Linked DNA regions of Homo sapiens: region 1 is linked to region 2. Evidence: promoter capture Hi-C in human tissues and cell types (Jung and others, 2019). All regions are on one chromosome and are shown on one strand. Each heading gives the region's core, a stretch centred on a gene start or on the middle of the fragment in contact. The rest is flanking DNA. Distances are from core to core; before and after follow the strand shown. Region 1 overlaps TPX2 (TPX2 microtubule nucleation factor). Region 2 holds the start of PDRG1 (p53 and DNA damage regulated 1).

Region 1 (2,700 bases), core at 152-2,651, 190 kb before region 2:
CTGGCTATTTTAAGGATTAGTGGCTTGCTTTGTGCTGAAGACCTTTCAATAATAGAAGGGGTTGCAAGAAAAGAACTAAAATATCAACTTCTTTCTGCACCAAGACATTCTGTCATCCATGATATTATGGGAATAATTGAAATGCCCAGTATTTGGGGAATGGATTGTAAGTACAAAGCATATGTTGTTTTGTAGTTCAGAATGGCAGATTTAAGCTTTAGGGACCTATGGGAAAGTTCAGATGAACCAGTGTTCAACAAAACTCCATGCTCAAATATGTCTGTAGTGATGGCAGCCACATAAAAACTTTGTCTACTATCATTAGGGATAGATTATATCACAGCTAGGATATTGACATTCATACAATCTACCAGTTTTACTCAGATTTCTCCAGTTTTACTTGTATGTGTATTAAGTTCTCTGTGGTTTTATCACCTGTGTTGGTTTATGTGTCTACCATCACAGTCAAGATCTTTTATAATTACCCTCACCTCCCTCCTGCCACCCCTCCCTCAATTCATTTTTTTTTTTTTTTTTTTTGAGGCTGTAGTCTCGCTCTGTTGCCCAGGCTGGAGTGCAGTGGTACAATCTCAGCTCACTGTAACCTCCGCCACTCTTGTTCAAGCGGTTCTGCCTCAGCCGCCCAAGTAGCTGGGATTACAGGCGCCCACCAGCATGCCTAACTAATTTTTGTATTTTTAGTAGAGACAGTGTTTTGCCATGTTGGCCAGGCTAGTCTTGAACCCCTGACCTCAGGTGATCCACCCACCTCAGCCTCCCAAAGTGCTGGGATTACAGGCGTGAGCCACTGCGCCTGGCCCTCAATTCATTTTTAAATGGAAGGATTATGCTACTAAGAACCCATTCCCAGAAACAGTATTGCTTGGCCAATGGTAAGTAAGAATGTGGTTACATTTTTACATTACTTTGAAATAATATCTGAGACTAGTTGTTGAGGCCCCTTTGATTCTTTCTCTCATGTCTCCATCCTCCTTATCGGGAGAAATCACTATGAATATGTGGTGGGGAACAGAAGTGAGTCCATTGCAGCTGTACTTATCCGTATAGTGCACTGTCCAAATGTGTTGACAGGTGCCATTTTTTGGAAAAGGACTTTAATGGCATCTAGTGGGGATCCTGAGAGGAGTCGTCTGTTGGAAGTGGTGTGGGAGGAAGGGTAAATAAATACAAGGGCCAGCTGTCCTGCGGGGATCTTCCCCATGCCCTTGCTTCACTGGAACTGTAAGGAAATGGCTGGGCTGTCTGAGGATTTCTTTTTCTAAGCTTTTCTTTAAAATAAAAAAGAAAAGAAAAGATTAGCCTAAGAATACTGTTAAATACAATTTGGAAGAAAAAAAATGACCCCACTATTTTTCCAAAACTACCTTAGTTTTAAAACATTTTTATTTTTTTTTCTTTTTGTTTTTGCCAGAGTTCTTTTGGCTAACAAAACTACCTCAGTTTTAATATATTACTTTCCAATTTCTTTCCCAAATAAATAGTCACATCTTTCTACACAGTTGCAATCAGAATGTACATGCACAGGGTAGTTATTGCTGTGTCTCACTGCATTCCTGAAACTATCAGTAGGCTGTTGGTAGAACAGACCCTTCACTGCTTTGTACTGACTTCTGGGCACAGTAGAATCTAAGATAAAATTTCTTGAGAGAACCTAGCTCTGCTCTACCCTCACACACCCCTTATTCCTCCCACCACCCCACTGAGGAGGAAACTCTGTAAGACTATACAGTATCTCTTGTAAGCCCTACAGTTTTTGATGGTTACAGTTTTCTTTCGTTTTTTTTTTTTTTTTTTTTTTGAGATGGAGTCTTGCTCTGTCGCCAGGCTGTAGTGCAGTGGTGCGGTCTCAGCTTACTGCAAATTCCACCTTCCAGGTTCAAGCGATTCCCCTGCCTCAGCTTCTCAAGTAGCTGGGATTAAAGGCATGTGCCACCACGCCTGGCTAATTTTTTGTATTTTAGTAGAGACGGGGTTTCACCATGTTGGCCAAGACAGTCTCGATCTCCTGACCTCATGACCCACCCGCCTCGGCCTCCCAAAGTGCTGGGATTACAGGTGTGAGCCATCGCTCCCGGCTGGTTACAGTTTTCTTTAAGAGGAACATGATATATTTAGGGAGTAGATAAAGCCAGTTCATATTTGTATGACCCTAAATGTGTACCAAACAAAGATAAGGAGTTATTCACAATGCAGAATCTGTACTTTTCCTTTTTTATAATACATTGTTCAATGTTGCCAGTTTTTAGTGATTGTTCTTATAGTCTATCTCGGATGTGTAATGTGTACTTTTTCTTTTGATTGCTAGAACTTTGCTTGTACTTGCCACATGAGTTGGAAGTGTACTGGTAGGGAGCTTTAGTTTGCATTTTAAATGCGTGATAGTGATTTGTTTTGCTTCCTTGCTGATCAGACAATGATGATCTTCCCTTTTCACAGAGGAGAAGGCCAATTTGGAGAATAAGTTACTGGGGAAGAATGGAACTGGAGGGCTTTTTCAGGGCAAAACTCCTTTGAGAAAGGCTAATCTTCAGCAAGCTATTGTCACACCTTTGAAACCAGGTAAGAAAACATCTTAGAAAAAAGCTCCTTGATAGAATGGTGGGACAGTGTTTTAGAAGCCTGAGGTTCTGGGAAAATTACCTAAATGCTCTATCTCTTTGTTTATTATTGGTGAAATGG
Region 2 (2,700 bases), core at 43-2,542:
ATTCTGAACTAGTAATATGAGAAACCCAACAATACTAGATTGGAACAGCAGGATTGGGGGCACTGAGACAGTGGTAACAACACAATAGCTACTAAGGAAGTGACGCAGTAGTACAGTATACTGCACGAGTGCTGGTTCTGGATTTGGAATACCCAGGTTCGAATCCTGCTATCTGCCTCAAGCTGTGTAATTTCACCTTCCTATTTACTCCTCCTCAAAATGGAGCTACGGACAGTACCTACCTTACAGGTTATTGAGCCAGCAATTAAATGACTTAACACAGTACCTGGCACATAGTAAGTAGCTGATAAACTTTAACTGCTCTTATTCTCATCCAGCACACCCTGATCCAGTACTTAATTTGACAGGATCTTGCCCAAGTTTTCCCCTTCTCAGTAAATACCTGACCCTTCTAACTGGAGATGAGAGGGAGTCACGACTCCCCCGGCTCCACTACCACGGCCTACTGAGTCTGTCTCCAAAATACATTTCTGACCCCTTCACTTCTCTCCACCACCACTACCTAGTCCAAATCCATCTCTGGTCTGGACCATACCAATGGCCCCTCACCCATCTCCCTGCCTCCGCCCTTGCCCACCTATATTCTGTATTCCACACAGCAGCCAGGGGGGATCCTTTTAAAACCTAAATCCAATTACGTCACCCTCCTTCCCCCAGGAACTCCCCTCAAAAACTTGGCACTTAAAACAAGACACCCCATAAACAGGGCGCCACCTTCCCCCACGTCCCCACCCCTGCCCGGTCACAAGGCCCCCTCAGGCTTCTTTTCGGTTCCAGCTCTCCCCTGAGGGCCTTTACAGGGCGGTGCCCCTAGATCAACCATGGGGCCGGGAAGTGCATTTTGAAACAGGTGCTCAGGGAAACGGCCCAGAGCATGATGGGTCGAGATCCACAGAGCATGGCAAGGGGCAGAGAAAGGATGAAGAGAGAGGAATGTCCAGCATAGCGCAGGCGCTCACTTAGTAGCGGCCGAATATTTATCGGCCCAGGTCTGTCGCCTCGGAGCCGTTAACCGCCTGTCCAGGTCAACTCACTGCGACCCCGCGCGCTTTCCCACGGCGCCGGCCGCCAGGCCCCAGCGCCGCGGAGGGGCCTCTCACCTGCCGCTTGTCCGCCAGCACCTCCTCGGCGAGCTCCTCCACTTCTACAAGGTACCGCAGCACTCGCTCTGCCTCGGGTGATAGCATAGCGCCCACCAACTCCGCTTGCGGCTCTCGCGCGACCCCGGGATCTCCGCTTCGACTCCCGCTGCGCACGCGCCGCTCTCTAGGTGCTTCCGGCGCGCCTGCGCAGTTAAAAGAACGGTGGTGCGCAGGCTCTAACACTAGTGCGCCAGCCGGCTGCGAGAGGCGGGGCCTAGCTTTGGGGGCGGGGCTGGAGCGCCCTCTGCAGGCTCAGAGAGCTCAGTCCTCGGGCTGCCTCTGACCCGTTACTCCCTCGGTTCATGCTTCTTGAGCACTTATTATGTGCCAAGCAGTTTTATGTGCTTAGGATGCAGCAGTGAACACAACAAAATCCCTGCCCTCATGGAACTTCATCCTAGTGGGAAACACCGACAATTAATGGCAAAACAATTATATACCGTGGCAGGTAGTGATTAGGATCTGGGAAATATTATTCTTCCCCTGGCTAAGAAACACCAAGAAGGCCCATGTGGCAGTGTGACTTATGTTTAATCTCTGACACTTTCAGTTTCTAATTTATAAAAAGGGGGTGAATAAAAATCCGCCTCAGTGTCTCTCCACAGGATCGGAAGGAAGCAGGAATCAGCTGGGCGCAGTGGCTCATGCCTGTAATCCCAGTACTTTGGAAGGCCAAAGCGGGGGGATCACTTGAGCCCAGGAGTTCGAGACCAGCTTGGGCAACACAGTAAAACCTCCGTTTCTACTAAAAATACAAAAAAAAAAAATTAGCTGGGTGAGGGGGGGCGCGCCCGTTGGTCCCAGCTACTCAGGAGGCTGAGGCGGGAGGAGCACCTGCATCTGGGGAGTCGAGGCTGCCCTGAGCTATGATGGCACCACTGCACTCCAGCCCGGGTGACAAAACGAGACTCTGTCTCAAAAAACAAAGGAAGCAGTAATCACTTTTAATTCCGTTTAACCAGAGTTCACTTGAGCCCCTGTGTTGGGCCCAATGTCCAGAGTAGCTGGCCTATACATAAGGAAGGGACTTGAAAACTATGGGCAGTAAGCAATGAAGTGCTAGCTCAGAAAAGCAGGTGGGTGTGGGTGGTAGGATTGGGAGGACTTCCCAGAGAAGGCAGGCAGGTGGAAAATGGTTACCATCAGAACCAGAGGGTTCCCACGAGGTCTTCACGCCCAAACTCCTCATTGGATAGCTGGAAAAAACAAACCTCAGAGAGAGGCAAGGCTTTGAAAAGAAGGTGAGGGGTGAGCCATGTGGATGCCTAGGAGAAGAGTGTTCCAGGCAGAGGGAACAGCCAGCGTATGTGGAACAGAATGGGCGGGGGGGAAGCAGGCAGGAGGTCAGAGGGAAGGAGGCATTGAGCCCACATGGCTGTAAAAGGCGCTGGGAAAGGACTTTGAAAGTCTAAAGAGCAGAACCGATATTATCACTCTGATGTCTCGCCTCCCTGATTCCAGCGTTTTATTCTCTCCTTTTGACCTCTTGTAACCAAGCCCCTTCACACCCCTTGCCTTACTTGAGTGTCAAAGCAAC

What was found. The method cuts DNA at HindIII sites, captures the fragments that hold promoters and counts their contacts. A contact is called where the count stands out against the background at its distance.
Region 1: a fragment that was not itself captured here is called in contact with the fragment with the promoter of PDRG1 in region 2 in 1 of the 25 tissues and cell types used here (small bowel).

Annotation. Positions count from the first base shown.
Region 1 is chr20:31,757,600-31,760,299 of GRCh38, forward strand. It overlaps TPX2 (TPX2 microtubule nucleation factor), which reads left to right. Exons shown (of 18, transcript NM_012112.5): 4 at 2,458-2,580. Among named protein-coding and RNA genes, the nearest start is that of TPX2, 20 kb to the left of the region's middle. The HindIII fragment of the contact is 7,137 bases long and covers 1-2,700 here.
Region 2 is chr20:31,950,754-31,953,453 of GRCh38, forward strand. PDRG1 (p53 and DNA damage regulated 1) reads right to left here and starts at 1,293. Exons shown (of 5, transcript NM_030815.3): 1 at 1,122-1,293. The coding sequence starts at 1,208. The HindIII fragment of the contact is 6,454 bases long and covers 1-2,700 here.